Regions from separate parts of the Homo sapiens genome. Here all the other regions are linked to region 3. Evidence: promoter capture Hi-C in 16 types of primary human blood cells and fetal thymus (Javierre and others, 2016). All regions are on one chromosome and are shown on one strand. The core of a region is centred on a gene start or on the middle of the fragment in contact, and the rest is flanking DNA. Distances in the headings are between cores, read along the strand shown.

Evidence for each region. The method cuts DNA at HindIII sites, captures the fragments that hold promoters and counts their contacts. A CHiCAGO score of 5 or more calls a contact.
Region 1: a fragment that was not itself captured here is called in contact with the fragment with the promoter of CAMK2N2 in region 3 in 1 of 17 cell types (M1 macrophages); the score reaches 5.3 in M1 macrophages.
Region 2: a fragment that was not itself captured here is called in contact with the fragment with the promoter of CAMK2N2 in region 3 in 1 of 17 cell types (M1 macrophages); the score reaches 5.1 in M1 macrophages.

What each region holds. Positions count from the first base shown.
Region 1 is chr3:183,960,248-183,962,947 of GRCh38, forward strand. ABCC5 (ATP binding cassette subfamily C member 5) reads right to left here. Exons shown (of 30, transcript NM_005688.4): 16 at 1,264-1,407. Among named protein-coding and RNA genes, the nearest start is that of ABCC5-AS1, 45 kb to the right of the region's middle. The HindIII fragment of the contact is 2,828 bases long and covers 1-2,700 here.
Region 2 is chr3:183,977,013-183,979,712 of GRCh38, forward strand. It overlaps ABCC5 (ATP binding cassette subfamily C member 5), which reads right to left. Exons shown (of 30, transcript NM_005688.4): 9 at 1,491-1,639; 10 at 505-612. Among named protein-coding and RNA genes, the nearest start is that of ABCC5-AS1, 28 kb to the right of the region's middle. The HindIII fragment of the contact is 2,012 bases long and covers 400-2,411 here.
Region 3 is chr3:184,260,126-184,262,825 of GRCh38, forward strand. It overlaps CAMK2N2 (calcium/calmodulin dependent protein kinase II inhibitor 2), which reads right to left and starts at 1,428. Exons shown (of 2, transcript NM_033259.3): 1 at 992-1,428; 2 at 1-102. The coding sequence starts at 1,160. The coding sequence ends at 32. The region is part of intron 2 of EEF1AKMT4-ECE2 (EEF1AKMT4-ECE2 readthrough); the gene reads left to right. RefSeq lists enhancers at 1-82, 83-634, 2,520-2,700. The HindIII fragment of the contact is 12,942 bases long and covers 1-2,700 here.

The DNA of each region.
Region 1 (2,700 bases), core at 132-2,631, 300 kb before region 3:
TTCTGGCCCTGCCCTAATCCTGCAAGCTCCTCTCCCATCTCACTGGTGTCCACAGCCCCTACTCTCAAGCCACACTGGACTTCACACCATTCCTTACACCACACTGCAATTTCCCATTTCTCTACTTTGGTCCACACTCGTTCCTCCACTTGGAATGCCCCTCCCCTTGTCCCAATCGCAGTCACAGTTGTCCCCATTCAGATAGATTCAAGTCTTCCATTCTTCATGAGGCAACATACACTCCCTGGAAAGCTCACCCTCCCATTCGCCCTTAGAACTCCATTAGTACTATACATGTGATGTGGTCTTGTAAGCCACATTTGTAAGTGCTTGTAAGAGCATAAAAGCATCGGTCTTCCCTAGAACACTGTGAGTCCCTTAAGGACAGAGATGATGTCTCTCACATGGTTACAACCTGCACAGGCCCTACCCCTGAGAACTGCCTATAACAGGGCACACAGGGACTCAATAAACAGCCATCAGGGTTCTACCTGAGATAACAGAAACTACTTAATGCTCTCCTTTCCAAGTTTCTCTTATGTCTTTTTTTTTTCTTGAGATGGAATCACGCTCTGTCACCCAGGTTGGAGTGCAGTGGTGCAATCTTAGCTCACTGCAACCTCTGCCTCCTGGGTTCAAGCGATTCTCCTGCCTCACCCTCCCAAGTAGCTGGGATTACAGGCGCCTGCCACCACACCTGGCTAATTTTTGTATTTTTTTGTAAAGACGGGGTTTCTCTCTATGTTGCCCAAGCTGGTGTCGAATTCCTGGGCGCAAGCAATCTGTCCACCTCAGCCTCCAAAAATGCTGGGATTACCAGCAAGAGCCGCAGCACCTGACCTGAGTGCTTTCAAATGTATGCAATATTTAATTTCCCTACCTTGGCACTTTATTCACTTGTTTATTTAAAAAAGAGCTTCATAATGCTTCAATCAGGTGGATGGAGCTTAGGAAACTAAGCTGTGAATGAACAGCAGCACACATCTTCTCTGCCCTCACTGAGCCCATATCCTTCTCCCTGCCATTGTCATATTAGTAAGTTCTCAGTGACAGAAGACCTCAGCTCACCAGCCCCACAATCCTGCTCTCCTAGAGCAGAATCAGTGTGTGAACTAAGGCACAGCAGTCTGTTCACCAGAAAACAGGGCCCCTGCCAATAAGACACAGACACTGGATTCAGCTGAGGTCTCTCCATCACTCACTCCGGCTGTGTTTCCCTTGCAGAGACAGAAGGGGACACACGCAAACACCATCAGATCTTACCTCAACTGGCGGTGTCTCTCCCAGCAACAGGTTATTAAAAATGGTAGCATAGTCACCATTTAAATTCATCAGTTCCTCATGGGTGCCTCTTTCCGTAATACAGCCCTCTTTCATGAAGATCACTTCATCACAGTCAACCAGGTACTGAAGGCAAAGGCAGAGACAACACAATATGCTGTTTGTGCAAATACATTCAAAAACCCATACATTAGTTCAGTAGTTCTCTACAGGAGACGAGTTAAGCTCCCAGAAGACATTTGGCAGCATCTGGAGACATTTTTTTTTTTGAGGCAGAGTCTTGCTCTGTCGTTCACGCTGGAGCGTGGTGGCGCAATCTCGGTTCACTGCAATCTCCGCCTCCTGGGTTCAAGCGATTCTCCTGCCTCAGCCTCCCGAATAGCTGGGACTACAGGCATGCAGCACCATGTCTGGCTAATTTTTTTGTATTTTTAGTAGAGACGGGGTTTTGCCGTACAGGTAATCCGCCCATCTCGGCCTCCCAAAGTGCTGGGATTACAGGCCTGAGCCACCGCGCCCAGCTGGAGACATTTTTGGTTGTCACAACTCGGGGGAGAGGTACACAGATGCTCCTCAATTTACAATGGGCTTACATCCTGATAAACCCAACGTAAATTGAAAATATCAGAGCTTAGCCTAGCCTACCTTAAACATGCTCAGAACCCTTACATTAGCCTACAGTTGGGCAAAATCATCTAACACAAAGCCTATTTTATAATAAAATGTTTAATATCTCATGCAATTTTTTTCAATACTATGCTGAAAGTGAAAAACAGAATGGTTGTGTGGAAACCATCATAAAGTCAAAAAACTGTAAGTTGAACCGTAAGCCAGCGACTGTCTCTACTGGTATCTAGTGGCTAGAGGCCAGGGGTGCACAAAGCAGCCCCACACAACAATGGACTATCTGGTCCAAAACATCAGTGGTGCCAACACTGAGAACCCCACTTCAGTGTATTGTGCCTCGTGACATAGTATAAGGAGCAGTTCCTCCAGTTTTTTTCTTTTTTTTTTTTTTTTGTGACAGAGTCTTGCTCTTGTTGCCCAGGCCGGAGTGCAATGATGCAATCGCAGCTCACTTTAACCTCCACCTCCTGGGTTCAAGGGATTCTCCTGCCTCGGCCTCCTGAGTAGCTGGGATTGCAGGCACGTGCCACCATGCCTGGATAATTTTTGTATTTTTAGTAGAGATGGGGTTTCACCAGTTGGTCTCGAACTCCTGACCTCAGGTGATCCGCCAGCCTCAGCCTCCCAAAGTGCAGGGATTACAGGCGTGAGCCACTGTGCCTGGCCGAGTCCCTCCGGTTTTTCACATGAATCTGCTGATGGAGCCACATGAGCCCTGCATTAAATTTACACCCTTTCACTGCACTCACAAATATACATAATTATGACTTTCTTTGGCAGAATGGAGGGTTT
Region 2 (2,700 bases), core at 156-2,655, 280 kb before region 3:
CTTCTCAACATGACCTAGTTTTATGACTATTTCCATGTAACTGCTTTCCCTGCATCGTGAGTAGCACCACAGGGCAGGAAAAAGAAAGTATCAAAAAGGATTCAGCATGTCAATCAATCAAAGTGACAGTAGCAAAGATCAAGGGGAAGATGCCCCACAGTGCTGGTCTTCTAGGTTTAAGCCACTTCAAGGCCCAGTGAGTTGCGACACATCCATGTCAGGCCCAGGTGGAAGGGGCTAGCTCTAAAGGGGAACTCTGCAATCCTGGGAGCCCAGATCATGGCCGTTCACAAAAGGTAAAAATTCACATTAATTAAAAAAGGTGACAAGTCTCATCCCTCAATTCAGTCTCCTCCACTGCCCCCTTTTTCTTACCAACTTGCCAAAAGGCCAAAGCCAAGCTTAAGCCCAGTGAGGCCAGCCTGGGTGGCCCCTTGAACAGAGCCAGCAGTTAGTTGTGTGGGGAGGGCTCCTGACACGGGGGCAGGGGAAGGAGCCACTTACCTTAAATCTGTCAACAGCCACTGAGGCTTCTGAGAGGGACTTTACTGAAAACGGTGTTACTTTCAAAGCAAAAGTCATGGAATTGAAGACTGTCACCACTGTGAAAGCCTGAAAATAGGAGAAGAGAAGAAACTGTGCCTAATGATGCTATGCAACTGAAGTAACCTGACACCATGAATTTCCTCTCAGGCGCTAGGAAGGCTGCAACTTCACGGTCAGCTGTTATTACAAGTCAATTACATTTTTTTTTTTTTGAGACGGAGTCTCGCTCTGTCGCCCAGGCTGGAGTGCAGTGACACGATCTTGGCTCACTGCAACTTCCACCTCCCAGGTTCAAGCAATTCTCCTGCCTCAGCCTCCCGAGTAGCTGGGATTACAGGCATGCACCACTATGCCCAGCTAATTTTTGTATTTTTAGTAGAGACAGGGTTTCACCATGTTGGCCAGGCTGGTCTCAAACTTCTGACCTCAAGTGATCCGCCCGCCTCGGCCTCCCAAAGTGCTGGGATTACAGGCGTGAGCCACCATGCCTGGCCACATTTTTTTTTAAGTAGAGTTTTTGAGACCTTCAATTAAAATTGTCAGTAAATATGAACCACAGGATGATCTGTAATTTCAGAATTAAACTCAAACTTATGTTGACTAAAAACAACTCATACACTATTTGTGCATAAGGGCTGGCTCCCCACTCTTCTGCTTCTCAGCTTAATCCCATGAATGAAAAAATACCTACTAATTCTTGGGGGAACCTCCAGGTCCAGTAAGGAGAGGACCACAGCATCATCTCCATATGTGGTATTTTTTTTTTGTTTGTTTGTTTGTTTTGTTTTGAGATGGAGTCTTGCTCTGTCCCCCAGGCTGGAGTGCAATGGCATGATCTTGGCTCACTGTAACCTCCACCACCTGGGTTCAAGTGATTTTCCTGCCTCAGCCTCCAGCAAATGTGGTATTTCTAAAATGTTCCCCATCCCTGAGGGTTCCCTGACCTGTGCTGCTGTCAGATCGAAGCCCAGGGTCATATGAACAGAGAAGGTCACCACGCTGGCAATCACCACCACAATGGGAGCCACACCCACAGTGATGCTCTGGAAGTACCCAGCTTTTTCCAATATCCGACGCTCCTCCTCGCGGATTTCTATGAATAAAAAGCAAGCCAATTTCAAAGCAAGTTAAAAGAAGCCTAGGGATGTTGTTCCTCCACCTCCAAACAAGACTCTGTAGGTCTCCAGCCACCCTTCAACACCTATGACTATCAACTCTACCACTAAAGCTGGTATAAAAGGCTGAGGTTTGAAATGGATCAAGTGACAGGAATGAATCTAACAGAAAGCAGTCACTATGTATGAACTCAATCATCATCTTCTATGATACCTTTTTCTGATTCTTCTTGTAAATTTCTTAGGTTGAGAAGGAATGAACACATTAATTGTATCTATAATTGGCAGTTGTGTTTGCTTACCTGGTTGTTGTTGACTTTTTGCCTAAGGAATTAATAGGAAAGACAACACAATGGCACTGGAGAATTAAAAAGGGAGGGACTAAGAGGCCAGGTGCGGTGGCTCATGCCTATAATCCCAGTACTTTGGGAGGCCCAAAGCAGGGGGAATCACCTGAGGTCAGGTGTTCGAGACCAGCCTGGCCAACACGGCAAAACCCCGTCCCTGCTAAAAATACAAAAATTAGCCGGGTGTGGTAGTACACGCCTATGATCCCAGCTACTTGGGAGGCTGAGGCCGGAGAATTGCCTGAACCTGGGAGGTGGAAGTTGCAGTGCACCGAGATTGCACCGCTGTATTCCAGACTGGGTGACAAAGCCAGGCCTTATCTCAAAAAAAAAAAAAAAAGGGGCAGTGGGGAGGGAACTAACATTTCCCAGAGTGCCTGCTGTATGTTGGCAGTGGGATAGAAGCTTCCATATAAAAATGCAGTAATGACAACCGGAAGAAGATAGGTGAAATACAATTTCTATAGGCAGAATGATTTTTCTTAAATATTTGCAAAATCAACCCCCATATTAGCAAAGCAACCATAGTGTACTGAAGACCGTGGAGCAGGAAGCAGAACAATAAGATACTTTTTTTTCAGACGAGGTCTCGCTCTGTTGCTCAGGCTGGAGTGCAGTGGCACAATCACGGCTCACCGCAGCCTCAACCTCCATGGCTCAAGTGATCCTCCCATCTTAGCCTCCCAAGTAGC
Region 3 (2,700 bases), core at 178-2,677:
GGCCCGGAGCCCGCCGCCCGAGCCGGCGCGTCTACACTCCGGACGGCGGCTTCTCCCCCATCCCCTTCAGCACGTCGTCTATCCGGTCATCCTCGATCACCACTGCGCAGGGAGAAAGCGCGTCAGCCGCGCGGCCTCGGGGGGCGGCGGCGATGAGAATGAGCCCCGCGTCCTAGCTTCCCGCGCAGCTACTGCCCGTGGCCCAGCGACGCCCCTCGGAACCCTGTGCCGCGGTGTCCTCCCCGTCCGAACTCTTCTGGAGACCCAACCCGCCGCCAAGCCTAGACCCCCTCCCCTCCCGATGGCGGAACGCCCCTCTTCCAAAGGCTCCAGCTATTCTCCCTCCCAGTGCGAGCCCTCCTGCCACCTGAGCCTTCCTCCCTCTGAGTTGATCAGAAACCTCTTGCTCACGGAATCCCCCTCTTCAACCCGCACTTCAACAGATCCCCCTGCTCAAATGGGGCTCAAACCGAGTATCCAGCTGGTCCAGCCCTCTCCTCAACCTGAGCCCTCTCGCCGCTGGAACCCCTCTTCCGATCCTGGCACCAACAGAGCTCCCCTCCCCATGCAAACAACCAAGACAAGCGGACCCCCGGCCTCCTGCCCTCTCTTGTTAGACGTCCCTCTCGACCCGAAGGTTCTTCGTATTGTCCACCGACTCAGTATTTGATCCCAAAGAATCAGCCCGTTACCCCGTGCTCCCACTTCCGTGCAGCCCCAAATGCCCCGACCGGCCCCTCCCCCTCGCCCGGGTGCCAGGGCTCTGCTTCCAGAGGTGGCGAGCATCGAATCCGGGGCACCGTGTTCCCGGGAGAAGGGAAGAGGGGGACACACACTGCAGCGGGGACCCCCCCCTCCAGCCCGGGCTGGAGAGCGGCTGGTGCGCTGGTCTGCGGCAAGAGCTGCGGGCACTCGGCGGGGAACGGCAGCCGGGGGGCGCCCGGCGGAGGGTTTCTGGGTCAGGCGGCGACTCCGGGCCCGGGCCGCGTACCTCGCTTGGCTCGGCCGATCTGGCCCAGCTTGGGGGGTCGCTTGGCCTGGTTGCCCGCGAAGAAGGAGTTGGTGTCCTGCAGGCGGCAGCTGAAGGAGAGGTCGGAGCCCTCGGGGTCTGCGCCGAAGCGGCCCATCTTGTCTTCGCTGTAGGGCAGGATCTCGGACATGGCGGGCGCGGGGTGGGCGCGGGGCGGGAGCGGGACTGCGGCGGGGCGCGGGCGGCGGGCTTGCTGCCGGACCGGCCCTACCTCAGCAGGGGAGCCGGCGGAAGGATGAAGTCATGCAGCATCCGGGGCTGAGGAGCCAAGCGGGGCCTCCTCCCCCGCGCCTCCGCCTCCCGGGCCGCTGGGCAGGCGGCGGCGGCGGCGGTGGCGGGGACCGGGCGGGGGCGGGGGCGGGGGGCGGGGGTGGCGGCGGCGGCGGCAAGAGCGGAATGACGATGAGCGCCCGACTGCGGCAGAGCACGGCGGGCGGGGCGCGGTGGAGGCGGGGCGGGCACTGGCCAGGGGAAAGAGGCGGGGCCGGGGGCAGGAGCGCGCCCAGCTACCCCGGGAACAGAGGCAGCTGGAGTGGGAGGTTCCCGCACTGTGGCGGGGAATGGCCAGCACGTGGGTCTTGGGGAATAGTACCAGCCAACCCGGCCGGGACCTCGCGGGGAGGGGCGGGACCGAAGGGGGGTGGGATCGAGCCTGGTACTGGAGGAGCTTGGAGGAGGGTCTGACCCCTAGGCTGGGAGAGGCGTGCAAGGGGGACTGGGAGCAGGAGGGCAAAAGCTGGCCGGGCGCGTTGGGGCGGGAAGGCGGCCGCAGGGCTGGCAATGGAAAGCGGGGAGCGGGAAATGCGCGGGGAGGAGACTCGGGTACAGGGTGACTGGGGAAGGCACGAACCCACAGCGCGGGAAGAGCTCGGGCCAGTGGGATGGTGCCCTTGCCGCTGACGCGCTCTTGTACTAGTTGCTCTGCTGGTCTTAAGTAGATCGTCAGGGTCCGTGCGCCTCTGAGTGCCGGTCTGTGTCTCTGTCTCCGCCTTTGTGTGTGTCAGTCCATCTCTAAGTGTCTGTATCTCTCTGTCTCTGTGCCCCGTATCTCTTTCGCTGTGTTATGGCCTTTGTCTATGCCTGTCCCTTAAGTGTCTGCCTTTCTCTATCTATCTCCATTCTTGACTCCTGTATCTCTGTGCCAGTGTCTCCGTCTCCTGAATCTGGGTATTTCAGTCTCTCCTAGGAGGGGTCTATAGAAACTGGGCCGACGCGCGCGCACCAGGGCAGACACCCCCAGCCCTAGTCCGGTGGCTGTAGCCCCCCGCGGCTCTGGAGTGGTGCGCTCGCAGTGTAGGAGGAATGAATGGCGGCGTCGCGGGGGGCGCCCTGGGCTGCGGGTGACGCGGGGAAGCTCGGAGCACCTGAGGACGCGGAGCGCGCCAGTGTGTGCCCCGAGGGAGTGCGGTAGAGATGGAGGGTGCCCCCCGCCCTCGTTGCTTTGGACCACGGGTGAGTTCTCGCCTCACCGATGGGAACATGCCCTCTTCTCCCCTTGCCTCCCGCCCCCACAACCCCCGCCCTGGCTGGCCGTCACCCGCGGCGTCACCTGCTTGCCAGCGCGCAGGAGCTCTGGCGCAATCACTGGCCTTGGGGAGGAGGGGGTGTCTCACATGCGGCGACAGTGACGGCAGCGCTGAAAACGGTAATGATCACCCTGTACGTTCATT